6 separate regions of the Homo sapiens genome follow, and regions 1, 2, 3, 4 and 6 are each linked to region 5. The links are contacts of gene promoters, found by promoter capture Hi-C in blood cells and fetal thymus (Javierre and others, 2016). All regions are on one chromosome and are shown on one strand. Each heading gives the region's core, a stretch centred on a gene start or on the middle of the fragment in contact. The rest is flanking DNA. Distances are from core to core; before and after follow the strand shown.

Evidence for each region. The method cuts DNA at HindIII sites, captures the fragments that hold promoters and counts their contacts. A CHiCAGO score of 5 or more calls a contact.
Region 1: a fragment that was not itself captured here is called in contact with the fragment with the promoter of DDX46 in region 5 in 5 of 17 cell types (total CD8 T cells, naive B cells, erythroblasts and 2 more); the score reaches 7.7 in total CD8 T cells.
Region 2: a fragment that was not itself captured here is called in contact with the fragment with the promoter of DDX46 in region 5 in 2 of 17 cell types (non-activated CD4 T cells and total CD8 T cells); the score reaches 6.4 in non-activated CD4 T cells.
Region 3: a contact is called between a fragment that was not itself captured here and the fragment with the promoter of DDX46 in region 5, in 4 of 17 cell types (erythroblasts, total CD8 T cells, naive CD4 T cells and 1 more). The highest score is 6.3, in erythroblasts.
Region 4: a contact is called between a fragment that was not itself captured here and the fragment with the promoter of DDX46 in region 5, in 1 of 17 cell types (M2 macrophages). The highest score is 5.0, in M2 macrophages.
Region 6: a contact is called between a fragment that was not itself captured here and the fragment with the promoter of DDX46 in region 5, in 2 of 17 cell types (activated CD4 T cells and total CD8 T cells). The highest score is 5.9, in activated CD4 T cells.

What each region holds. Positions count from the first base shown.
Region 1 is chr5:134,172,535-134,176,629 of GRCh38, reverse strand. It overlaps SKP1 (S-phase kinase associated protein 1), which reads left to right. Exons shown (of 6, transcript NM_170679.3): 2 at 2,608-2,704. The coding sequence starts at 2,608. Among named protein-coding and RNA genes, the nearest start is that of SKP1, 2.4 kb to the left of the region's middle. RefSeq lists an enhancer at 20-299. The HindIII fragment of the contact is 359 bases long and covers 2,031-2,389 here.
Region 2 is chr5:133,965,696-133,970,303 of GRCh38, reverse strand. It overlaps C5orf15 (chromosome 5 open reading frame 15), which reads left to right and starts at 1,679. Exons shown (of 3, transcript NM_020199.3): 1 at 1,679-1,858. The coding sequence starts at 1,720. It overlaps LOC105379183 (a long non-coding RNA gene), which reads right to left and starts at 1,615. Exons shown (of 2, transcript NR_134247.1): 1 at 1,512-1,615; 2 at 81-553. RefSeq lists enhancers at 1,536-1,755, 2,386-2,485. The HindIII fragment of the contact is 3,928 bases long and covers 739-4,608 here.
Region 3 is chr5:134,191,541-134,195,992 of GRCh38, reverse strand. PPP2CA (protein phosphatase 2 catalytic subunit alpha) reads left to right here. Exons shown (of 7, transcript NM_002715.4): 7 at 1-1,661. Among named protein-coding and RNA genes, the nearest start is that of SKP1, 17 kb to the right of the region's middle. The HindIII fragment of the contact is 1,885 bases long and covers 1,826-3,710 here.
Region 4 is chr5:134,155,254-134,159,458 of GRCh38, reverse strand. SKP1 (S-phase kinase associated protein 1) reads left to right here. Exons shown (of 6, transcript NM_170679.3): 5 at 864-1,004; 6 at 1,691-4,205. The coding sequence ends at 1,726. Among named protein-coding and RNA genes, the nearest start is that of SKP1, 20 kb to the left of the region's middle. The HindIII fragment of the contact is 2,454 bases long and covers 777-3,230 here.
Region 5 is chr5:134,757,396-134,761,921 of GRCh38, reverse strand. It overlaps DDX46 (DEAD-box helicase 46), which reads right to left and starts at 3,143. Exons shown (of 23, transcript NM_001300860.2): 1 at 2,967-3,143. The coding sequence starts at 2,983. RefSeq lists an enhancer at 2,879-3,368. The HindIII fragment of the contact is 1,728 bases long and covers 2,151-3,878 here.
Region 6 is chr5:133,982,665-133,986,884 of GRCh38, reverse strand. All of the region lies in intron 5 of VDAC1 (voltage dependent anion channel 1), which reads left to right. Among named protein-coding and RNA genes, the nearest start is that of C5orf15, 16 kb to the right of the region's middle. The HindIII fragment of the contact is 1,116 bases long and covers 715-1,830 here.

The DNA of each region.
Region 1 (4,095 bases), core at 961-3,460, 580 kb after region 5:
TCACGGCGCTCCATAAGTGAGCCGAACCCCGGGCTGGGCCTTCTCTGCACCGGCCGAGCGTCAGCCGGCGCGGAGCTCGGCTGCAAGGCCCAGGCTGCGGCCGGGGGCCTCTCTTGGTCTTAAGCCTGCTGTCCCGGGGACCAGGGCGGGGGTGGCGGCGGGGTTGTGAATGGGGGTCCCTTGGCTGTCGTGAGCGTGGGCGTGTGTCGGTGTCTGGCTTTTGTTGTGGTCGGGAGGGAGAGCTGCGGTGGTGGTCTGAGGCCGCCCGGTTCTTGGCTCCCATCCTTTCTCCACCGTGTCTGGCGTCACTAGCTACCGGTCGGTCCTGGCTAACCGTGTGCGGGCGCCGGCTTTCTGCACATAGCCGCCTGCTCCATCTGAATATTTCTTAGCGTTGTTTTGCCATGACTTGGAGTCGTTGAGCAGATACCATCGTCAGAGTGGTGTGACTTGTAGGAGCCTTAACTGTGTATAACTTAACTCTAGGTATCTGGCTTTTAAAGAAATAGGACGTCTACCTGCTTTGATTCACTTTTAATGGAAACTTCACGTTTGGGTTTTAGGGACATGCATTTTTCCTTTAGAGCGTGACAGTAGAATGTATCCGTTTCATAGAACAATACCGTCTCCTCCACTGTGCAGTCTAAAAAGCAGTGTCAGAATTTCGGGTCACTTAAAGCGCAGGGGTTTTTTTTTCTATATGATGTGATAGAACCCGCTTTATGCTGGCCATGGAGAATTATTTACAAGTGCAGGAGCCTTTAGGCCTCTTTCTTTAGAATGGAATTGTTTTGAAAGCATTTCAAATAAATATTTCATCCATTATTACTTAAAAATTTTGCACTTTATTCTACTGTAACACTAAAACTTATCTTTGAGTTTAGTATTACCAAGTGCATCGAATTACAGATTAACCGATTGACCAGCTGCTATTTAGTAAGGTCTCAACTCCCTTAAGAGTAACCCAATCCACAAACTTGACTATGACTAAGCACTTATCTTGAGTTATTTGAAAGAAATATGAAACGGTCGTCTTGCTTTTAGAGTAATTTTAATCAACTGCATTGTTAGATTTGTGATTCTGCACTGTTCATTTCAGTACTATCTAATATAAAAATTACATGTTTAAATGTTTTATAATTAAAAATTGGGCTCAGGTTAAAATATTTTCTTTTGGAGATACCTTTTGTTGTGGTCTTGTCACAGGAAGGGTCCTCTACTCTGCATCCTTCTCCATTAAGCAGGGACAACTGCATTATTGGCAAGCGCTAAGCAACATGGAGAAGCAGACATGTTTGTGAATCGCAAAGTGAAATCTGATTCTCTCCAACTATGGATGAGTGAGAGTAGGATATTTCAGTGGCTGGTTTTAAAACATGCTTTACTTTTTTGCTTCCTTTGCCTAACAACCTGTTTGCTTTGGGGTTGGCGACAATTGTCTCAGAGAAGCTGAATGAATATTTTAACCGATGTAATGGGTCATAAGTCTTTGAACATAAAATGGGTGTGATGCATGTTTTAAATGCCAAATGATACACTTTTGGGAAAATATATGCGATTTGTAATACAACACACCTAGAAAACTTCAGAGGTGCCATAAGTTAATAGTGACATCACCGGATTATGAATACTTGAGAAGCATGGGCCTTTTAAAAGTTGTATGTGAGTTTTAAGAGGCCTTGAATTAATCTGTACCAGGTATTGCTATTCTTTTTGTTGTTGTTGTTTTCCTTGTTTGTATGTTTTCTTTTTTAAAAAAAGAATTTGAAGATGGTAAGAAATTGTTGGACTTTTAATTTTAAATGCCTTTTTTTTTTTTTTTGCCAGAACTCAAGTCCTTTGAAATTAAATGCTTAACTTTTTATGTAAGATTATATCTTTTTCCTAACGACTCATAATTAATCTGAATTAATAAATGCGTTTTCAGAGCAAGTAATAGGTTATTATTATGGAGATCTTGCCAAGAGATCTCAAAGTTGGTCACCTGGACAGTCAGTACTGAAAGATAAAAAGGGCTCTGAAATGAAGCTTTTAAGTAGATTTAGGGAATTGTACTCACATCTGCTTATCTTTAAATCATTTTATTCTCTTGTATATGGTCTTGCATTGCCTCAGACATAAATGAGCATATTCTGATGTACTCTTTGGATCTGAACTCATCTTCACAGGTAGGACTCACTGTGGGGAAAATTTCTATCTTATTTAGTAGCGTTGTTTGTTTTGGACTGACCTTCCTCAGGTTCGCATGTAGTTAATTGTGGCAGTTAACTGTTCAGATGGAGTCCAGTATTCAGTGGGAGACGAAAGGCAGGCAGAAAGCAAATACAAATATGTATGTTTTATTAAATTTATACCAATAGTGAGTTCAGTAGGGCAGGCCTTAAAAGCTTCTGTTCCTAGTAGTTATACTTTGAAAAAATTTTAATAGAAATACTCGGAGACTAACTTGTGAATAACTGCTTACAACAGTGCTTTACAGGGTTATGTATTGTAGGTTCTTAGAACTTTGTGGTCAATAAGTTAGAGCCTTCTGATGGACTGTAGTTGATGAAATGTCATGTAGAACTCTCTCTCTTAAATTTTATATTTAATGTCCTTTTTTTTTAGATGCCTTCAATTAAGTTGCAGAGTTCTGATGGAGAGATATTTGAAGTTGATGTGGAAATTGCCAAACAATCTGTGACTATTAAGACCATGTTGGAAGGTAAGTTCATTGGAAAACCTGGGTGGGAGGAAATGTGTAATTTGAGATAGTTTGTGAATATCAAATTTATATGAGCAGCAGCCTGTCATAAGGTGCTTGAGAGTATGAAGAGGTAAAGTTTACATTTTTTTCTTTATAACTTACATTTTTCTGATACAGGTCATCCTTTCTGCATTGTCTGAATTAGTGAGGGTCGTTCTCTCATTAAATGGATAAAATCATAAGGTAAAATAAACATTGAAGTGATTGCCAAGCCTTAGGCAATGGTTAATTTCTGTTCAAGTAAATTTGAATTCATAAGTTCCAGTGATAGAAATTAAGGTCTTTGGAAAAGAGATACCGTCCTATAATGGTGGCTGAATAGAACACCTTATTTCAGTGGAGGGAGTGAGCTCTGTGGATTGCTGTGTAGATTTTATTTATTGATTGATTTATTTGAGACAGAGTCTCACTCTTGTCCAGGCTGGAGTGCAGTGATGCAGTCACGGCTCACTGCAGCCTCAACCTTCTGGGCTCAGTCAGTCTTCCCACCTCAGCCTTCCGAATAACTGGGACTACAGGCACGTGCCACCACATCCAGCTGATTTTTTTGAGACGGATTTTTTTGCTCTTGTTGCCCAACCTGAAGTGCGATGGTGCAGTCTTGGCTCACTGTAACCTCCGTCTCCCTGGTTCAAGCGATTCTCCTGCCTCAGCCTCCCGAGTAGCTGGAATTAGAGGCATGTGCCACCAAGCCCGGCTAATTTTGTATTTTTGTTAGAGACGGGGTTTCTCCATGTTGGTCAGGCTGGTCTCGGACTCCCGACCTCAGGTGATCCGCCCACCTCGACCTCCCAAAGTGCTGGGATCACAGGTGTGAGCCACCGCGCCCTGCCCCAGCTGATTTTTTAATTTTCTTTTTTTTTTTTTTTTTGAGACGGAGTCTTGCTCTGTTGCCCAGGCTGGTGTGCAAGTGGCATGATCTCAGCTCACTGCAACCTCTGCCCCCCGGGTTCAAGTGATTCTCCTGCCTTAGCCTCCCGAGTAGCTGGGATTACAGGTGCATGCCACCATGCCTGGCTAATTTTTGTATTTTTTAGTAGAGATGGAGTTTTACCATGTTTGTCAGGCTGGTCTCGATCTTCTGACCTTGCGATCCACCCGCCTGAGGCTCCCAAAGTGCTGGGATTACAGGCATGAGACACCACGCCCAGCCTAAATGTTTTTATAGAGACAGGATCTCCCTATGTTACCCTGGTTGTTCTCGCACTCTTGGACTCAAGCCATCCTCCCACCTCGGCACCCCAAAGTACTGGGAAGAGCCACATTACAGGCATGAGCCACTCTGCCAGGCAGAATTTTTTTTTTTTTTTTTAAACAAGCTTTCTCTTTTGTCTGTTTTGTCATTCCTC
Region 2 (4,608 bases), core at 1,453-3,952, 790 kb after region 5:
TTGAGTTCATAATATCTCACCAGTTAAGAGAATTGAGACAATCTGGTATGAGGACACAAATGGACAAAGTGGACAATGAGTCAGGGAAGAGGACTGCAGTGTGTTTATTATAGATTAACTTTAAAGTCAACAAGCAGAAACTAAGATTGAGAAGCTCATTTGTTGAACTGAGTGGTTTTACAGAAAACTTAAGTACCGCTCAGAGAAGGGAAGCTCCTGGGGGACTGGGAGGACTTTGCACCTTGGCTAAAGTGGAGAGTTTGCAATAAGGACACCATTCAGTCTAATACGGGCTTCTGGGGGATTTCGGGAAATGTGCAGATGAATGACTTCTTAGTTTTCTTAACACAGAGTTTGTGTGTTTCTGAGCTGTCACCAGGGTGAGATAAAAGCTTAGGGGAAACCAGATTCAGGAGTAGAACACAGGCCCTTTAGAGAGACAGCTCAGCTGTGTCTCTGGGGGATAACAGCAATCTTCGCAGGGAATCATAGAGACCAGAATGGTGAAGCTGTGGGCACAATAAATGTCTTGCTTAACGTCACATTGATTTTCCTGAAATTGATCAAATGGAACTTTTATGAATTGAAGCCTGTATCTGTTTATTAAGGAGACATTTACAGAACGTACACACAGAGCAAAGTATGGCGCCAGGGCCCTAGGTGAACTTCTTGGAAGTTTGTAAGTTTGCATTTTTATACACTGGGGATTTCAAGTAACAAAATTTAAAAAGAGAAGCTTATTTTAGGAAATCTGAAAGTTATTTTCAATGGCAGCCCCTCACCTCTACTTCCTAGCTACCTTCCTTTCTTTTCCTCCATAATTTTTTTTTTTTTTTTGAGACGGAGTCTGTGGCCCAGGCTAGAGTGCAGTGGCATCTCGGCTCCCTGCAGCCTCCACCTCCCGGGTTACAGCGATTCTCCTACCTCAGCCTCCCGAGTAGCTGCGATTACAGGCACGCGCCACCACGCCTGGCTAATTTTTGTATTTTTAGTAGAGTCGGGGTTTCTCCATGTTGGCCAGGCTGGTCTCCAACTCCGGACCTCAGGTGATCTGCCCTCCTCGGCCTCCCAAAGTGCTGGGAGCCACTGCACTAGGGCCGGTCCATAATATCTTTATCATCTTGTATAGTGTGTATTTTACACCATATTCGCCCTCACAAGAAAATAAACTGCCAAGGCGGGCGGGGGGGTGGGGGGTTCTTTTTGTTCACTGCTGTATCTTAAATAGGGAGAGGTGCTAAATCTTTGTTGAAAAAAAATAAATGACTGTCGGGAAAGATTTTTAAAAATTACTTATAATCCCATCACCGAAATAGGACTACTTAACATTTGTGTTTCTTTCGCCTTTGAGAGAGGAAGAGCAGTTACTTCGCTTTCGTGATCAGTCTGTTCTACAGCTGGATCTTCCTTTTTAAAATGGCTAAAAACGCTATTTTTGGCTGTATAGTACCCAATCATGCAGGCGGCAGGGAGGGGCTCGCTTTGGCCCTCTTCAGCACGTCACACCCTACCTTTAATCCGCAGCCAACTGTGTGGCGGTCCCCACTTTCGCCTAGCGGCAACTCCCTCCTCCCTGCAATCCTTCCTTCTTATTCCGGTTTCCAGAGCACGTCTCCAGGCTTCGACGTCACCACGCTGGGACGTATGTGCCGAGGGCCGCGGCGTCTGACCTCATGGCGTAGAGCCTAGCAACAGCGCAGGCTCCCAGCCGAGTCCGTTATGGCCGCTGCCGTCCCGAAGAGGATGAGGGGGCCAGCACAAGCGAAACTGCTGCCCGGGTCGGCCATCCAAGCCCTTGTGGGGTTGGCGCGGCCGCTGGTCTTGGCGCTCCTGCTTGTGTCCGCCGCTCTATCCAGTGGTAAAGGGGGGCGGCAGTGTGGGCTTAGGAAGGCTAGGAGGGCTCGGGCGCAGGGCAGGAGACAGGCCGGGCCAGGGAAAGGGCGCTTCCAAGTGTCAGGAGCAGACGGCGGTGTCTGGTTGGGTCAGGGTCTCCGCGGGCCTGAGGACGGAGGGTATGGTGTCTGAAGGGGTCCAAGGTGGTAGGGTCTCCAAGGGGCCTGAGAAGCGGGGTCCCTGAGAGATGCAGGAACCCAGGGAGCAGGCAGCAGGGTGTGTAGATGGGCGGGGAGGGAGGAGTGGTGTTAGCGCCTAGAGATCGTTGAAGAATGGGCTGCCGCAAGGAATGGCGGTGGTGGGGTCTCCAAAATTTCTTGGATCGGAAAGTTAGGAGACTCTGGAAGAGAGGGTGGCGACAGGGGCTGAGGAGGTGGCCGGGGCTGGGGGTGTGGTGTCTGGAAAGGGTCCTGAGTTTGGGGGACTCAGGAATCTTGCAGGACCAAGGAAAGGTGGGGGTTTTCCAGAATGGGAGAGGTCAGTGGTAAAGACCGAGGCGGGCAGGGGCAGTAATCCAGTGACTGGACTGAACCAATGGAATATTTCCGAGAGGGAAAGTGAAAGGGAAAGAGCTGTCTTAGGGTACTGGTGCATATTTGAAGACTGGGAGGTTCTGGTGTTTGATAAAGATTCAGAGTACTGGGGCGTTGGGCCCCTGAAGGCTTGGGAGGCAGAGAGGAGTTTGGAGACAAGGGAGATCATGATTCCTCTTCCCTGTGTTCCGAGTTAACCAGGATAACCCTGCCTCGTTTTAATGCATCTGTAGGATTTGATTGATAAAATATTTCATTTCTTGCAAATGTTGCATGGTGAAATCAAGAGATTGAAGGCTTTTATTGAGAAATTAGGAAATCTGTAAACCAGTGCCTGATACTTGGTGGGAAAAATCCACTATTAAGAACTTGTAAGGATTAAACGGTATTTTGTTTAGTAGTCCCATTTTTCTTTCAGGCCAAGACACAGTCCTGCGTTTCTCCCTAAATTTGAATTTTCAGCTGCAAAACAGTGTGACCTGGTATAGTGTTTTCTTTCTTGCCAGCAGGGCCTGTCCAGCCCTACATTCCTCTGCGACAGTACTGTGGGTACATACTTATGTTTCCTCAGCAACATTTCAGTGTTGCTAACTGGACGCCCTCCCAGAAGTCTTTGCAGTCCCTGAGGAAGGACTGCTGTCCATTTCCTAAGGCCCTTTTATCATTAGTGAAATGTAATGAGGATTTCCCTGGTTGATGCAGATATTCCCGTTCCTAAAGTACTTAAGTAGCTTAATTGTTTTGGCCATTTAATCATCTAAGAAAAATAAAACACAAACATTTATATTTCCTGCTGGAATGCTTAAGGGATATATATCTGGCAACTGTAGTTTCAGAAACAGCTTTTTTCCCCTAAGAGATGGTTGAAAATTGGGCAAGAAGTGAGGCAGAATGTGGACTGTTAAGTGTCCTTTAGTCTCTGCTTTTATTTGTTAGAGCCCTATAAATATTTTTCTAACTATACTGAGACATTTTAGAGAATCTTTATCTTTTAAATTAAGTCTTTACATACACCAGTTTAAAATGTCATAAATTCAGATTATTCTGTCCTGAAAAGAAGCTAAATGAAAACGAACATACATGTCTTTAATAGGCGAGCAGCTCCACTGCACTACAGTGTAGCTTGGGATATAAGTATTTTTTGTAAGCATACCTTATAATTTCAAAGTAGTCACTCCTGTAATAAGAAAATTAGTCTAGAATGTGTTGAGTTCCAAATTTCAAGTGAGTTTACAAAGGTAGAAGGTTACCACATTAGATTTATTTAAATTTGTTCCATATTAGGTTTTAAAAACTGTCAATGCTTGGTTATATGCTCGTCAGTCTGTAAGAATTTTTGTTTTATGTTTTTGTTTTGATCAAGTCTAAAAAATTAACATAAGCAGTTTGGATCACTGGGTGACTAATTCTTGGTCATGCCATTTCAAAAATGCCTGGTTCTCTACATTTGCCATTATATTGTCCCCAAATGATCACCTAAACTTAATGTATAATGCATTTCATTTTTAAGGCATTGTTTCTCAAACCAGTGTGTGAATGAGTTCTCGGGGTCCTCTGCATTCTTAAGTTTAAGAAATGCTGATATAGTTTTATTTTAGGGCAGTTTTTAAAAAGGGACCAGTAGAAGGGGAGAATTAAATTTATAAAGTTTTGTTTTTTGTTTTTTTTTTGAGTCTGTCGCGAGGCTGGAGTGCAGTGGCGTGATCTCGGCTCATTGCAACCTCCGCCTCCCGGTTTCAAGTGATTCTTCTGCCTCAGCCTCCCGAGTATGCTGGGACTACAGGCGCGCACCACACCTGGCTAGTTTTTGTATTTTTAGTAGAGACGGGGTTTCACCGTGTTATCCAGGATGGTCTCAATCTCCTGACCTCGTGATCCGCCCGCCTTGGCCTCCCAAAGTGCTGGGATTACAGGCCTGAGCCACTGTGCCCAGCCTTTTTTGTTTGTTTGTTTGAGACAGGGTTTTGCTCTGTCGCCCAGGCTGGAGTGCAGTAGCACAAACTTGGCCCATTGCAACTTCCGCCTCCTGGGCTCAAGCAGTCCTCCCACTTCAGCCCCCTGAATAGCTGGGACCACAGGTGCCTGCCACCGTGCTCAGCTGATTTTTGTATTTTTGTAGAGATGGGGTTTTGCCATGTTGGCCAGGCTGGTCTTGAATTCCTGTGCTTAAGCGATCCACTTG
Region 3 (4,452 bases), core at 1,519-4,018, 570 kb after region 5:
CCATGTGCAGTGGTTTTAATACCCAAACAATCTAGACACCAAGCAGCTATTTTTTCCGGTCCTGTGATATCAGAATTGACCAAGGAATACGTATATTGTAATTGACACGTGGTGGTATCTTCCAGGTACAAATTCTCTAAATTTTGTGGTTAGCAGAATGGGACTTGTGATAAGAATAGCTTGGTTTTAGCATAACTAGGGTTTAAAATAATTGTTTAATTATAGAGACTGACCGGGCTTTGGCCATCTAAACTGGAAAGTGTTAGTACCCTACCTTCTTTTGAAAATGGCTATGGTAAGGAAAATGTGTTAGTAAATTATGTATTTTCTTGAAAAATACATAATTATGGTTGGATGGGAATCACTAAGTTGGGTGTTAACTGATGTCTCAATTAGTAACATTAGGATTTTCATTAATAAACCTAAAAAGCTTTCCCTAAGAACAGGCCTGGCACAGTGGCTCATGCCTGTAATCCCAGCACTTTGGGAGACCAGGGTGGGTGGATCCCTTGAGGTCAGGAGTTGAAGAGCAGCCTGGCCAACATGGCAAAACCCCATCTCTACAAAAAATATGAAAATCAGCCGGGCTTGGTGGCATACCATAGTCCCAGCTACTTGGGAGGCTGAGGTGAGAGGATCGCCTGAGCCCAGGAGATGGAGGTTGCAGTGGGCTGAGATTGTGCCACTGTACTCCAGTCTGGGTGACAGAGCCAGACCCTGTCTCAAAAATAAAGAGGATTCTGAGTTTGTATAGTGAGGGCTTGCAGAAATTTTGAAACTTATTTTGTAAGTTTACAATGAATTTGTACATGATGTGCTCATGTCTTGGGTTGAGTATCCTAGACATGATTTTTTCATTTGCTGCATATTAAACATTTGTTGGTTGTAGTCGGTATTTCTTAAATAGAAGTTTGTCAATATTAGATTAGTTTCAAGAAGGACTTAGCTCAGGAAAAGGATAGTTATTTCTGTGGTTCTCAGCTTTGATGCCTACAGAGATTCTGATTTAAATTGCTGGAGGAGGGCCCAGGCATACATTTTTTAAGTTTCCCAAGTGATTCTAATTTACATCTAGGGTTAAAAACAGCCAGGCGCGGTGGCTCATGCCTGTAATCCCAGCACTTGGGGAGGCCGGGGTGGGTGGATCACCTGATGTCAGGAGATCGAGACCAGCCTGGCCAGCGTGGTGAAACCCCATCTCTATTAAAAATACAAAACTGACCGGTGTGGTGGCAGGAGCCTGTAATCCCAGCTACTTGGGAGGCTGAGGCAGGAGAATCACTTGAACTCAGGAGGAGGAGGTTACAGTGAGCCCAGATCGTGCCATTGCACTCCAGCCTGGGCAAAAAGAGCAAAACTCCATCTCAAAAAACAAAAACACCTCACTGCTGTTTCCTAAGTACATACTTAAGAAAATTGGGATACATGGTGGTGGTTCATGGATGTTGATAAGGAATTAAAATGTACCGTGCGACTCTCTGTTTCAGTGGTGACTTTTACCTGTTTAGTATAAATATTCCTTTGCTTCCAACCATAAATGTGTTCTTAGAAATGGGCCTATAGTTTAGTAACCTATAGTTTGGTAATAGGCTTGTTTGTTTTCAGATGGATTTTGGTTCTGTGAGCTAAAGCTATTTTGCATTAAAGCCTTCGTCCTCACACATTGTTTTGACATATTTCTAGTCTTCATAAACTTTTTTAATTTAGATTTTTTTCCCTTCACAAGTATACATCTGTTTTAGCAAATAGCCTTATGAAGGTTGTAGATGTATTATTTTGGGCATGCCTGGTGATTTCTATATTTTTTCCAATTACATTTAAAGCTTTATGTTTTAGGAATATAAGTACATTTTATTTCTACTTTTTATTATATATATTTAATTGCACAAGTACTACTGTCTAGAAAAAAATGGGATGTTGCTAACACAGCATTGTTGGCTTGTAGGCAGTGCTGTCCTGTAAATAGATTGAAATGTATTTTTATCAGCTGGTATATAAATTTGAGGAAAGAAAAATGTGGACTGTGTTTGAATTGTTTAAAAGTTGAACATACAAAGATCAGTGGTAACCAAGTAAGTGATATAGGCAACAGACCCCAGTTTGTTTTGTATTTGCTGTCATGCCTGGACCAGAATTCCTCATTCCCAAGAGTGAAAGAGGAAATAATTATAGCTAATGAGTGAATGCTGGAAAAAGTCACACTTTTTTGTTTTTTAAGGAAAAGCACAAACCCTCATGTCTGAGGTTGAATTTAATTAAGTGCAGTCGGCCCTCCATAGTCAAGGGTTCCACATCTGAGAATTCAGCCAACCATGGACTGAAAATATTTTTGGGAAAAGGAACCAATAAAAACCAATACAGTGGCCAGGAGCAGTGGCTCATGCCCATAATCCCGGCACTTTAGGAGGCGGAGGCAGGGGTGGGGGGATCACCGGAGGTCAGGAGTTCAAGACCAGCCTGGCCAACATGGTGAAACCCCGTCTCTACTAAAACTATAAGAATTAGCTGGGCATGGTGGCGTGTGCCTGTAATCCCAGCTACTCAGGAGGCTGAGGCAGGAGAATCACTTGAATCTGGGAGGTGGAGGTTGCAGTGAGCCAAGATAGAGCCACTGCACTTCAGCCTGGGCAACAGAGCAAGACTCTGTCTAAAAAAAAAAAACACAGTATAACTATATACATAGCAATTTCATTGTTTAGGTATTATGAGTAATCCATAATTTAAAGTATAGCCAGCCATCAGTATCCACAGAGTTTGCATCAAATGAGTCAATGGAGTCAACCAACCTGGGATTGAAAATGCAGTGTTCTTTTTTTTTTCCCCCTGAGACGGAGTCTCTCTCTGTCACCCGGGTTGGGGTGCAGTGGCACGATCTTGGCTCACTGCAACCTGTGCCTCCCGAGTTCAAGCAAGTCTCCTGCCTCAGCTTCCCAAGTAGCTGGGATTACAGGCGTGGCTCACTACGCCCAGTTAATTTTGTATTTTTAGTAGAGACGGTTTCACCATGTTGGCCAGGGTGGTATGAAACTCCCAACCTCAGGCGATCCACCTGCCTCAGCCTCCCAAAGTGCTGGGATTACAGGCATGAGCCACCGCGCCTGGCCAAAAAATGCAGTATTCTTGAATGCAGAACCCACTGGTAAAGGGGACTGACTTCCAGACTTGACTATCCAAGGGAGGTGTCCTGGATCCAGTCTCCCAAGATTACTGAGGGATGACTAGTTTGTATCCTCAACAGGCTTGTGAGAAGTAGCCAGGATTTTGTCTACTCTGCGTACGATGCTGCTAATGCTGCAAACCACTGCTCTTATTTTACTACTTGGGTCCCTTCGGAATCTATTTTGAGATAGCCTCAGCCATGGTGTACAATCTTCTCAACCATTCAGTGTTGTTAGTGGGAAGGACTTTAATGTGTTCTTCCTGCTGGGCACAGTGGCTCCCGCCTGTAATCCTATCACTTTGGGAGTCCGAGGTGGGTGGATCACTTGAGCCTGGAGTTGAAGATGAGCCTGGCCAACATGGTGAAATCCTGTCTCCACTAAAAAAACAACTAGCTGGGTGTGATGGCACTTACCTGTAGTACCAGCTAGTTGGGAGGGTGAGACTAAATCGCTTGAAACCGGGAAGCAGAGGTTGCAGTGAGCTGAGATCGCGCCATTGCACTCCAGACTGCGAGACTCTTGTCTCGAAAAAATATATTTTTAAAAGCTTTCTTCCAAGAAATAATTTAGCTGTTCTTCCTTAGTGCAGTGGTAGGCTGTAGCCACCAGCAAGCAAGATTACTGATGGTGGAAGTCAAAGGCCAGAATCGTGATAGGAAGTTAAGAGTGCTTGCTCCATAGAACACTATGGAAGACCACAATGGAATGTCTAATTAAAGCTATTAGAAATGCCCAAAGCTGTTGAGTGCCTCTACCTCAAGGCTTAGCATACCTTCTGATCTGCAAGGAGACTAATCATTAGGCTTTTTGCAGTTCTAGAACTGCTCTGAGTATGGCATTGGAACCTGGGGATAGGAGCAAGAGCTAGTAATTGGGTTTGGCAGGCCTGGTCAAAGGGGAGCTTTAAGGTCAGGTATATCCAAACATATCAGAAAGTAGGTTACATGGTGTGGTGAAATATACCAGATGTAAAATCTGCAGAATGTACTCCTGCTGTTGAGTCCAACTTGCAATGTAAGTCCCTTTGCAGTGAAGGTCTTGAGTATGTATTGCATGCAGCAGGCAGAGGAGCGGGAGGAGAAACTGTATAATGTATTTGGTCTTGAACATCCTTTGTTTTCCAAAACCACATTCATCTCTACCTTGGTTGAAATGTATAAAACTACCATTTTAAGTTTCATCTTTTCATTGATCTATGACTAAAATTAGGATGCAAAGACAAACCCAAGGCTTAGCCCACTGCTCCTCCTCAGAGCTGCACTGAAACTGGTTGTAGGGTAAAGGGATGTAG
Region 4 (4,205 bases), core at 754-3,253, 600 kb after region 5:
CAGTGAGCCGAGATCACGCCACTGAATTCCAGCCTGGGTGACAGAGTGAGACGGTGTCTTAAAAAAAAAGTCTCCATTGTAAAAGGATTCAGGTCATACAAAGTATGTCTTCTGACTGCAATGGAATTAGAAATCACAAACAGAAAGGTATCTGGAAAAATCTGCAACTACTTTTAAACTAACACATTTGCAAGTAACCTATGGGTCAGAGAAGAAATAGAAAGTATTTTGAGCTGAGTGGAAGTAAAACACATGAAAAATCGGTGAGATGCAGCTAAAGAAGTACTTAGAGGGAAATTGATGGAATGAAATACCTATATTATTAGAAAAGAAGAAAAGTTTCAAATCGGTGATCTAAGCTTCCACCTTAAACTAGTAAAAGATGAAATTAACTACAAAGTAAACAGAAGAATGAGAATATTAAAGGGCAGAAATCAATGAAATAGAAAACAGGTAAACAATAAAGTCAATGAAACCAAAACCTGTTTTTTAAAATGAGATCAATATAGTGCTATAACTGCTTACGTTTGAACTCTTTAAGTGTGGACAAATATTTTTGCCAAGACCTGATGTGGTATTTGTGTGCATGTGTACACACATACACAACAGTAGTGGCCGTTATTTCACATTTGAGCTAGTATAGTTTGGTTAAGGAAGCAGAAGGATTCAACATTATAGAGGTATAACAAAGAAGGTCACATAAAAGTCTTTCACAGAAGAACTTAGGAGTGATTTATTCTTCTCCCTTTAATTTCTTAAAATTAGCATTTTAAGCTTTATTAGATACGGAGTGTCAATCATTAACTTTGGATTTAGTTTAAAACATCAAGTATACTTTAAGGAAAACAACTGTCTCTTTACAGGCTGCAAACTACTTAGACATCAAAGGTTTGCTTGATGTTACATGCAAGACTGTTGCCAATATGATCAAGGGGAAAACTCCTGAGGAGATTCGCAAGACCTTCAATATCAAAAATGACTTTACTGAAGAGGAGGAAGCCCAGGTAGGTAGCACACAGTTTTGTCTTTGATCACATGCTCTTAAAAAGGGAGTAACACCTATAACATGCCAGCAAAAGAGGTGACTGTATCAAGTAGTCTTGATACTTTAGGGATAATATGTACTTAATGTGTCTTAAACATACTCTTACTGTTCTGTCTTTATGAATCTGAACACTTAGATGATACTGCATTTTAAGCATAAGAACAATTAGTTTTCAATGAGAAGAGCTCTTGTTAATGTATTAACAGTTACTAGTTTTGGCACCTGCAACTTTCTGTATAGACCATACATATCTGACATCAGAAAAGCAGGCCCTAGAGAGAAGTATATACTAGGGTACTTTAGAGCAACTTAATGAGGGGAGGAAATGAAAGAATAGATCAGAATGATTTTGTTGACATGACTACAGACTGAAATAATGTGAATGAATTAACTGAATTTGCTCTGTCAACTTTAGTAAATTGCCCATTGCCTTTGCTTTGTTCATAATTTCAGCAGGGCAGAATAAAAACCATGGGAGGCAAAGAAAGGAAATCCGGAAATATAGTCTTAACCTGGTGTTGTTCTAATTTTCCATCTGTTCTTCTGACTCAACTCACTGGCTATCGATGAATCAGTAGGTAGTATTTATAAGTCTTAGGAAAGACTACTCAAGTTAAGGTACTTCCCTATATCCATCTCTTTTAGGTACGCAAAGAGAACCAGTGGTGTGAAGAGAAGTGAAATGTTGTGCCTGACACTGTAACACTGTAAGGATTGTTCCAAATACTAGTTGCACTGCTCTGTTTATAATTGTTAATATTAGACAAACAGTAGACAAATGCAGCAGCAAGTCAATTGTATTAGCAGAATATTGTCCTCATTGCATGTGTAGTTTGAGCACAGATCCCAAACCTTACGGCCAAGTTTCTTCTAGTATGATGGAAAGTTTCTTTTTTCTTTGCTCTGAATAAAACTGAACTGTGGGTTCTCTATAAGTGGCATTTTGGGCTTTCCCTCTTTTTTGTAAAGCAATGTCTGCCTAGTTTATTGTCCAGTTAACTTTAGTGACCTTTTAAAAGTTGGCATTGTAAATAAAACAACTTGCAAAAAAGTTTTCTGGAATAGAATTAACAAAATATTATCTTTATTCATGAGTTGGAAACTGGAAAAAGGCTTCTTGAAGTAAATGTTCTGAGTGGAGCTACTAGGATGTCTTCCAGCCTCCTGCAGTCAAGGAGTACCACTGTATTGATTAGCCTGTATGTAGCAGGGCTCCCTTCATTGCATCTGAGGACTTGTTTTCTTTTTCTTTATTTTTAATCCTCTTAGTTTTAAATATATTGCCTAGAGACTCAGTTACTACCCAGTTTGTGGTTTTTTGGGAGAAATGTAACTGGACAGTTAGCTTTTCAATTAAAAAGACACTTAACCCATGTGGGATGTCATCTTTTTATAATTAGTGTTCCCATGTGGAGAAAATTATTCACACTACTTGCATGTAAAGAATAATTTAACTTTTAACATTAAAATATGTGGTAAAACCCAGAAAGCATCCATCATGAATGCAAGATACTTTCAATAAAAAGTAAGTTATATAGTAGGTAGTTAAGTTTGCTTTTGTGGACTTAAATGTGTCTCTTCACTTAAATGGGTTGAATGTGTATATATTTGTTCAGCTTGAAAAGACTTAGTTTATATCCTAGCTCACTGGAGGCTGCTGACATAACCATAACTTCTGTCCCTTCTAATTGTCATTTATATGCCTAACTGGAGCTAGTACTTTAATTCTTAACACAAAATTACTCTGCCATTGTTTCCAGCTTCCCTCCTACAATAGAATGAAGTTTTTTTGATGGCTTGAGATGGCTCACAAATTTTGATTTTTTTTTCTTCCTTGTGCTCCCTTTTTTTCTCCTTGCTTTTCCAGTTAACATCTATATTCACATGTAATCTTGTTTTCTCTTCACATTCACTGAGTTGTTCAGGCTCAGATCATCCCTTGACAGTAGTTTGCCTTCATCTCACCTTTCATTTGTCCCAAATTCACCTTATTTAATAAAGTCCCATATGTTGTCTCACTTAATTCCAATTTGTTGTCTGTACCAGAGATAGGAAACTATAATGTGTGGGTCAAATCAGGCCCATAGCCTGTTTTTGTAGTCTTTGAGCTAAAAATGGTTTTTACGTTGTAAAGAGTTATTTAAAATTCTCTCTCTCTCTCTCTCTCTCTCTCAGGAGATAAGCTTGTTTTCTGTTTGTCCTGGTTTTAGTGGGGAAGGTAGCGGTGTATAGTCCTAGCTGAATTGTCTCATCTACCAATTCCTGCTATTATAAGATCAACTTCTGCAAAAACCTTATCCACCTCAAGTATCCTTAGCAGCTGGGCATGGTGGCTTATGCCTGTAATCTCAACATTTTGGGAGGACAAGACAGGAGGATCGTTTGAGCCCAGGAGTTCAAGACCAGCCTGGGCAACACAGAAAGTCCCTGTCTCTCCAAAAAAAAAAAAAAAAATTAGCAGTCATATGGTGCATGCCTATAATCCCAACTACTTGAGAGGCTGAGGTGGGAAGATGGCTTGAGCCTGAGAGGTCGAGGCTGCAGTGAGCTGGCATTGCACCACTGCACTCCAGTCTAGGCAATAGAGCGAGACCTTGTCTCAAAAACAAACCAGAAGTATCCTTAGCAGTATTATGACAAACAAATCTTCACTGAAGGTCCAGGATTACTGCCATATGCCATGTTTAACTTGTAAAGGAAGTATCACCTTCTAAGAAACTGGAGCTTGTTATTACCACTTGATCTGTATAATACTCAGCAGTAGTTAGAATTATATGAGTAAATAACGTCACTATCCGTATTTAAAGGATAATGAGATCTTTCAGAAAGATTGGATGGACAGACAATATAGTAGTAATTTAAATTTTTGTTTCCTGACTTTCTGTAGTCCCTAAACAAACAACAAAAAATCCTAGTAATCTTAAACTTTTACATTAATAGAGATCCAAGAGAAAATAAGCCATTTTTCACCATTGTGGACCCAAATAAATCATAGACATGGTATTAAGAAGCCCTTTTCAGTCTGGTTGCAGTATTATTTTCCTACCTTTCTTTTTCCTGTTCCCTGCTGTATGCCCACTATTCCTTTAATATATCTACTAGAACTTTTCTAGGCTTTCACCTGGAGTGAGTGGTCCTTTCTCATTATCACAGTAGCCAA
Region 5 (4,526 bases), core at 1,894-4,393:
GAGGCAAGGACAAAAGGAGAAAGAATAGGCAGGATTAGCAAAGACCAGCACTATAGCAATCATCCAGGCATGAGATAGTGGTGGCATAGATCAAAATGGAAGGTGGAAAGATTTTGAGAAATATCAAAATCTGGATATCTTGAAGCTAGCACCGATGGGATTTAATGATGAACTAAATGTCAAGTGTGACAGCAAGAGAGAAATCACTCAGTTGCCATTTACCAAGATGGGAAGGCTGAGGGAGAAATCCAGGGAGAAGGTGGATCAGAATATTAGGTATCCAAGTGGAGATATATAGTATATAGTTGAAATATTAGCCTGTAGTTCAAGGAAGAGGTTTCTCTAGAAATATAAACTGGACAGCTATTAGTGTACAAAGGCTATTTAAAGCTATAAACCTAAATAAGATCACTAGGAGATGAATGCACCTGATTATCTCTCAAGCACCTCAAGTTCAATCTGTAGAAACCCAAACTTGTTACCCTTCCCTCCCCAAACGATTAATCGTACCAACTTCCGGTCACTAGGCTCAAAACATTAGTCATCATCAATATTTTTCTCTTGCTCTCATTCGATACAATAAATAAAACACCAATTGGCTGGGCACAGCGGCTCATGCCTGTAATCCCAGCATTTTGGCAGGCCAAGGTGGGCAGAGAGCTTGACCTCAGGAGTTGAGACCAGCCTGGGCAACATGGTGAAACCCTGTCTCTACAAAAAATACAAAAATTAGCAAAGCGTGGTGGCACACGCTTGCAGTCCCAGCTATTCGGGAGGCTGAGGTGGGAGGATCTCTTGAACCTGGGAAGCATAGGTTGCAGTGAGCCAAGATTGTTTCAATGCACTCCAGCCTGGGAGACAGAGCAAGTCCCTGTCTCAAAAACAAAAAAACAGGCCGGGTGCGGTGGCTCACGCCTGTAATCCCAGAACTTTGGGAGGCCGAGGCGGGTGGATCACAAGGTCAGGAGATCGAGACCACCCTGGCTAACACGGTGAAACCCCGTCTCTACTAAAAAATACAAAAATTAGCCTGACGCGGTGGCAGGCGCCTGTAGTTCCAGCTACTCGGGAGGCTGAGGCAGGAGAATGGCGTGAACCCTGGAGGCGGAGCTTGCAGTGAGCCGAGATCCCACCACTGCACTCCAGCCTGGCGAAAGAGCGAGACTCTGTCTCAAAAACAAAAACAAAAACAAAAAAACAACCAAGTAATACCAATTTCACCTCTGTAATTCCCTTCACATTATATCACCTCCACAGAGTTCCAACCGTCACTATTCTATATCAGACATATCTACCTAGGAGATTCTTAAAGACTGTAGTCTTCCTGTTTCTATTACTTTTCCATTAAATCTTACTCATTGCTGCTAAGGAGAATTCTGATTCTATTACACACTTTTTACTCAAAATCTTCAAAGGTTCACAAACAAATTCTGATCTTCAAAATCTACAATCCACCCGCTTTCTGGGCCCAAGTCCTATTCAGGACCTACCTCCTACTACTTCTCAAAAAAGATAAAATCCCTTCATGAAACCTACATATGCAGAAAAATTGGGCTTTTTAGCTATTTCTCTAACACCTTGCGCCTTCCCACCTCTAAGCCTTTCATGATTCCCTGAACAAACCTAGAGCACAGGCCATGCACACCAGAGAGGTAAAGGAGAAGGCTGACGGGCTAGAATGGACCTTCTTGTGAAGGGCCTTGAAGGCTGTCATAGAGTTTAAATTTCATCTTGGAAGCAGTAGAAACCAATGGAGACTAAGTCAGGGGCATGCCATCATCTTATCTCTACTTCAGAAGTGTCACTCTGGCTGTAGTGTAAGGGATCTAACAATTAGGAGAGCAACAGAGGAAGACAATCAATTCAGAGAATCAATTTAAAACAGATGTAGTAGTCTGGACAATAAATAATTAGGGCCTCAATTAAGTCAGGGACAACCAGAATGGGCAAAGGATGTAGAATCTAACAGGCTGTGGGTAGTGAGAGAGAAGAATGAGTCAAATAAATATCACTTTCAGATTTCTGGTCTGGACAGCCTTCCGGAGATTTAAAACACCGTCACAGGAATTTTCTGTAGTTAAAGAAATATTTTTTATCTTCATCCAGGTGATGATTACACGGTTTATATATTTGCTAAATTTCATCAAGCTTTACCCTTACGTTTTGTCCATTTCCCTGATTGTTAATTGTACCTCAACAAAGAACTGTTAGCACTAACAACAAAAGCCTTCATTGTTCCTAGACATAAAATATCTTTCAGTCATTGCTAAATACATAGCAAATAGTCATTTTTAACATAAAAATCTCAAGGTTCCTAACAATCTATCAACAATCTAAAGTTGTGATGAGATCTAATGAGTTCTAATAAGAGCTCATAGTCCACAACTTCAAAAGGACAGAAAAGCAGGTAACAAAGTTACCTGCTTAAATACGAAATCTATTTGCGAAGTAAATGCCCACGCAACAAGTATTTATTGTAGCCCAGTAAAAGCCTAGTCGTGTATAGTGCTGTCGATGCGGTAAAAATGTCTGCCCACACGCTCCTTTCAAGTAACTTGGGAAAAGATCATACGCGCACAAAGAACTAAAATACAGAATGACAGGAGTCGAGGAAATGTTGGAAACGCGAAGCAATAAGCAATCCAACTGGGATCACTTCTGACTGAAGTAATCAGGGCAGGCTCCCTTGAAGTGGCGGGATGTGGTGCCCAATCACTAACGTCCTGGAGGGTTGTTCCCGCTCCAGGGGCTCGAACCCTCTGATGGTAGTGCAGGGGAAGCCGTCGCTGGCCCAAACACAACCATTCCCTCAGCCGAGGTCCCCCAGCCCTTCCAATGCTCGCGGGGCAGCGCTGACCGCACGTGGGGCCGCGCCAGGCCTGGCCCGGCGGCCACCTCAACTCCCGCCTCTTCTCACGACCCCAAGAAGCCGCTCGCCCGCTAGCCCGCTCGGCGCTCTGCCTCACCGTGACTCCCGACCCATGCTGCCGACCGCGGGAATACTGGTGCCCTTGAGTACCACGCACAGGCGAACCGGACAAACAAGGAGGCTGAGCTGCCCTCAACGCCCGGCAAAGACCAGCGCTAAACACTAGCAGCACCTACAGCTGTGGCGGCCATCCCAGCGCGGCCAACGAAAACAGGACGTGCTGGCGCCGGCAGCCGAAGGAAGAGAAAAGCCGACCGGAAGCTGCCGCTCTTCCACAGCGCCCCACCTCGACTGGAGGACGCACAGCGCCGGCCCCATCGAAAGGTGATGCCTTCGCCCCGCCCAGTCTTCCCGGCGCCCGCACCACGCCCGGCTGATTAGTGCGATGGAGCGCAGCGCGTCAGCCTCGCCGGCCCGTGAGGGTGTTTCGCGCCAGAGCCAAAGAGGCGTCCTGGGCAGGCTGATGTCTGCCTTAATTTGCGCTAAATAATGCGGCAACTTTCTCCGTACACGCTCTTTATTCATGTATACATTCACTCATTTATTTATGTTGTCATATGCCAGGCTTGTGCTAGATCCTGGGGAGCTCACAGTCTATCCGGGAAACAGATGACTAAAGCCAGCACAGTGGCTCACGCCTGAAATCCCAGCACTTTGGGAGGCTGAGGCGGGAGGATCTATTGAGCCCAGGAATTCAAGACCTGGGCAACGTAGCCCTCGTCTCTGCAAAGAAAATAGTAATAATAATAGACTTGACTAAAAACACAAGCAGAAGTAATACAGCAAGGAGAGTCCACCATTGGAGACGGATTCAGAAAACACGTTTCCCTTGGAAGTGAACTCTGAGGTGAGATTTGAAGACCCGGTAGGTGTTAACCTAGTAGAGAACAAAGAGCTAAAAATACTTTGGCAAAAGATTAGTTCTCAACATTGCTTGCACTGGGAAGCTTAAAAATAAAACAAAAAAACAAAAAAAGGGCCAGCCATGGTGGCTCATGCCTATAATCCCAGCACTTTGGGAGGCCGAGGCAGGAGGATGGCTTGAGCCCAGGAATTCAAGACCTACCTGGGCAACATAGCGAGACCCTCTACAAAAAATAAGCAAAATAATTAGCCAGGTGTGCTGGCACGCCTGTGGTTCTAGCTACTTGGGAGGCTGAGGTGAGAGGATCATTTGAGCCAGGGAGGCTGAGGCAAGAAGATTACTTGAGCCCAGGAGTTTGAGGCTGCAGTGAGCTATGATGACTCCAGCCTGGGTAGCACAGAGAAATCTCATCTCTAAAATATTAGTAAATAAAATAGAAGCCTGGGTTCCACCCCTATGTTCTGATTTAATTGGCCTGGAGTGCTTCTTGTGCACTGGGAATTTTTAAGCTTCCCAGGTAATTCTGAAGTACAGTCAAGATTGAGAACATTATTCGAGAGTTTGGGCACCAAAAAAATGTATATGTATTGTCTCATGCAACACACACAGAAATGTTGAATTTTTTTTGTTTTTTTTTTTTGAGACGGAGTTTCGCTTTTGTTGCCCAGGCTGGAGTGCAATGGTGAGAGCTCAGCTCACCACAACCTCCACCTCCTGGGTTCAAGCGATTCT
Region 6 (4,220 bases), core at 23-2,522, 770 kb after region 5:
ATATGGGCTTTGGGAGAATACACTCTGTGTGCTTTTTGACAAACCTCTGTCGTTTTTCAGAGCATGTCTTTATTTCTGGTTTTAGAAAGTGTACCACGCTCATCTAGTACTTGTTTTTCCCCAGTCCTGCTATCTGCCATTTCTCCAAGGAGCCTTGGTTCTTTATGTTGGAGAATGATATTTAGAAACTAAGATTGTAGGCCTGGCGCGGGGGCTCATGCCTGCAATCCCAGCACTTTGGAATGCTGAGGCAGGTGGATCACGAGGTCAGGTGTTTGAGACCAGCCTGGCAAAACCCTGTCTTTACTAAAAATACAAAAATTAGCTGGGTGTGGTGGCGCACACCTGTAATCCCAGCTACTCAGGAGGCTGAGGCAGGAGAATTGCTTGAACCCAGGAGGTGGAGGTTGCAGCGAGCCGAGATGGTACCACTGCACTCCAATGTGGGCGACAGAGCAAGACTCCATCTCAAAAAAAAAACAAAACTAAAATTCTGGGTGCTAGATGTACATAATGCTACTGGGTATTTGAGGAAAGTTCTGGTGGTGCATCATGGAGATTAGAAACGAAAGCTGGCTTTCCAAAGTGACTGAGGGTACAGCCTGGGAAAACACCTGGCTCCCAGGAGGAGCGGAGTGTAGACCACATCTGGATGAGGCCACAGACCTCAATAAGGACCAGCACCCACGCTGAGTATCCATCACAAATAAAGCTTGCTTGTTAACCACAAATCAGTCAGGCCTCTCTCGGGTGCTTGTCAAATTAGCACTACTGTTGAAATAGCTTAAAAATAAATCCCAATAATATCTGAAAGAGGAAGACTCCACAGACATGGTGTGCAGTGTTAGAAAGAGACCTGGAGAGAAGCCTGAGCCACTCCCCAGCACTGCCCTTTCTCTTGGGGATTGTGGGCCCTGGCCAGAATCCAGTGAGACAGTGGGTGGGGGTGCCATGTCAACTGGTGCAGGTGGTGCACACCACTGGTCAGAGGCCCTGCCATAGGCATCATAGTTTGTGATCATCAGCAGCTTTTTATTAAAAATTGAAAAAGGAGATGGTTAGAAGATGCCTGATTTTATATTTCCTTTTCCCTTTGTAAATGTCAGCCTCTCAACAGCTGTCTAATCATCAGTCATCTCAACCAGCCTGGTGCCAATCACATACTTGGCTGAAACCCAGACTTCTTTCCCCAAAGAGCAGGCAGATGAAGATAGGTTTCTTTTTCTTTTTTCTTGAGACATCTTGCTCTGTCGCTCAGGCTGGAGTGCAGTGATGTGATTTCAGCTCACTGCAACCTCCACCTCCCAGGTTCAAGCAATTCTCGTGCCTCAGCCTCCTGAATAGCTGGGATTACAGGCACATGCCACCACGTCCTGCTAATTTTTGTATTTTTAGTAGAGACAGGGTTTTTCCGTGTTGGCCAGGCTGGTCTCCAACTCCTGACCTCAAGTGATCTGCCCTCCTTGGAGTGCTGGGATTACAGGTGTGAGCCACTACGCCTGACCAGTTTTGGATTTTTCTTATTGAGAGATAATTTGGTTGTTACTCCTTTCCTTCAAACCTTGCCAAAATGTACAGAAGTAACTTGAACAAAATTGAGGTTCCAAGGCATAAGTTTCATTGTCACTTGTTCTGTTGGTGAGCAGGTCTGTGCACACCTACTCCCAACTGCTGAGGGAGCTGAGCAGCCAAAGAAAGAGACTGACAAATCCAGTTTCTCAGAAAGAAACATTTAATAGAGACTTACAAATAGAAGCGATGTCTCAAGCAGCCAAGAGACAGTGGATCCCTGCATTCATCCTCCAGAAAGTATTCTTTATATAGCAAGCTTTTAGAGTAAAGACATGTGCATGTCTTAGACCATCTTGCAGAAAACTCTTGCAAAACTTGTGACCAAAGGGAGGTTAGATAAGCATCTTTACTTTTTAAATTTTTATTTATTTATTTTTTTGAGACAGTCTCACTCTGTCACCCGGGCTGGACTGCAGAGGCGTGATCTTGGCTCATTGCAACCTCTGCCTCCCGGGTTCCAGCGATTCTTCTGCCTCAGCCTCCTGAGTGTCTGGGACTACAGGTGTGCACCACCACACCCAGCTAATTTTTGTATTTTTAGTAGAGATGGAATTTTGCCATGTTGGCCAGGCTGGTCTTGAACTCCTAAGCTCAAGTGATCTACCTGCCTTGGCCTCTAAAAGTGTTGGAATTACAGGTGTGAGGCACTGTGCCCGGCTGGCATTGTTTCTTTTATGGGATTGTCTATGATGCATTCCTTGGTCGTCATGGCTGTATTAGGCTATTCTTGCCAGGCAAGGTGGCTCACGCCTGTAATCCTAGCATTTTTGGAGGCTGAGGCAGGCAGATTGCTTGAGCCCAGGAGTTGGAGACCAGCCTAGGTAACATGGTGAAACCCCATCTACACACACACACACACACACACACACACACACACACACACACACACACACGCTGGTCATTGTGGTGAGCGCCTATAGTCTTGTCCTTGCATTGCTCTAAAGAAATACCTGGCCAGGCGAGGTGGCTCACACCTGTAATCCCAGCATTTTGGGAGGCTAAGGCAGGCAGATTGCTTGAGCCCAGGAGTTGGAGACCAGCCTAGGCAACATGGTTAAACCCCGTCTACCCACATGCACACACACACTAGCTGGGCCTGGTGGTGCGCACCTATAGTCAGTTCTAGCTACCTGGGAGGCTGAGGTGGGAGGATCACCTGAGCTCAGGAGGTAGGGGCTGTAGTGAGCCATGATCGCACCACTGCACTCCTGCCTGGACAACAGAGTGAGACCTTGTCTGAAAAAAAGAAAAAAATACCTGAGGATAGCTAATTTATGAAGAAAAGAGGTTCAATTGGCTCATGGTTCTGCAGTCTGTACAAGCAGAGCACAGGCATCTGCTCGGCTTCTGGGAAGGCGTCAGGAAGCTTTTAGTCATGGTGATTGATGAAGCAGGAGCAGGCACATCACATGGCAAGAGCAGGAGCAAGAGAGAGAGAGTGGTGGGGAGGTGCCACACGCAAACAACCAGATCTCATAACTCATTATTGGGAGGACAGCACCAATCCATGAGGGATCCACCCCCATGGTCTAACCACCACCCAGCAGGTCCAACACTGGGGACTGCATTTCAACATGAGATTCAGAAGATACAGCATCGAAACTGTATCAGTGGTGATTTTGTTTCAAGACGGTGTCACTCTTGCCATGGAACAGGCTATTTTCCTACATCACTTGGGAGGGGTGCTGGCTTTATTTTCAGCTGTGACCTCTAAAATTCTTGTCTCATTGAGAATTTGGAATTTTTAACCTTTATTTTTTTTTAATGAGAAATCTGAAACATACAAAAATATACAGAAAAATATGTTTAACCCTCATTCTATTCCTATCACACAGCTTTGATAGTTACCAACCTGTGGCCAATCATGTTTTATTTATACAGCCATAAATATAACACTCCTCCACGCACATACTATTTTAAGTAAATAACAACACTTAATTTCAGCTGTAAATATTTTATTATGTATCTTTAAATGGCAATAATCCATTTTAAAGGAGCATAACCATGATATTATTATTATATTGAAAAAAGTTGATCATTTCTTTTTCTTTTTTTTTTTTTTTAAAGATGGAGTTTCACTCTTGTTGCCCAGGCTGGAGTGCAATGGTGCGATCTCAGCTCACGCAGCCTCCGCCTCCCGGGTTCAAGTGATTGTCCTGCCTCAGCCTCCTGAGTAGCTGGGATTACAGGCATGGGCCACCACACCCGGCTAATTTTGTGTTTTTAGTAGAGACGGGATTTCTCCGTGTTGGTCAGGCTGGGCTCGAACTCCCGACCTCAGGTGATCCGCCTGCCCCAGCCTCCCAAAGTGCTGAGATTACAGGCATGAGCCACTGCGCCCAGTGGATCATTTCTTAATATTGTCAAATCTCTAGTCTGTTCAAATTTACATGATTGTTTCATGATTTTTTTTTTTTTTTTTGAGACTGAGTTTTATTCTTGCTACCCAGGCTGGAGTGCAGTGGCGCGGTCTTGGCTCACTGCAACCTCCACCTCCTGGGTTCAAGTGATTCTCCTGCCTCAGCCTCCCAAGTAGATGAGATTACAGGCATGTGCCACCACACCCAGCTAATTTTTGCATTTTTAGTAGAGATGGGGTTTTGCCATGTTGGCCAGGCTGGCCTTGAACTCCTGACCTCAGGTGATCC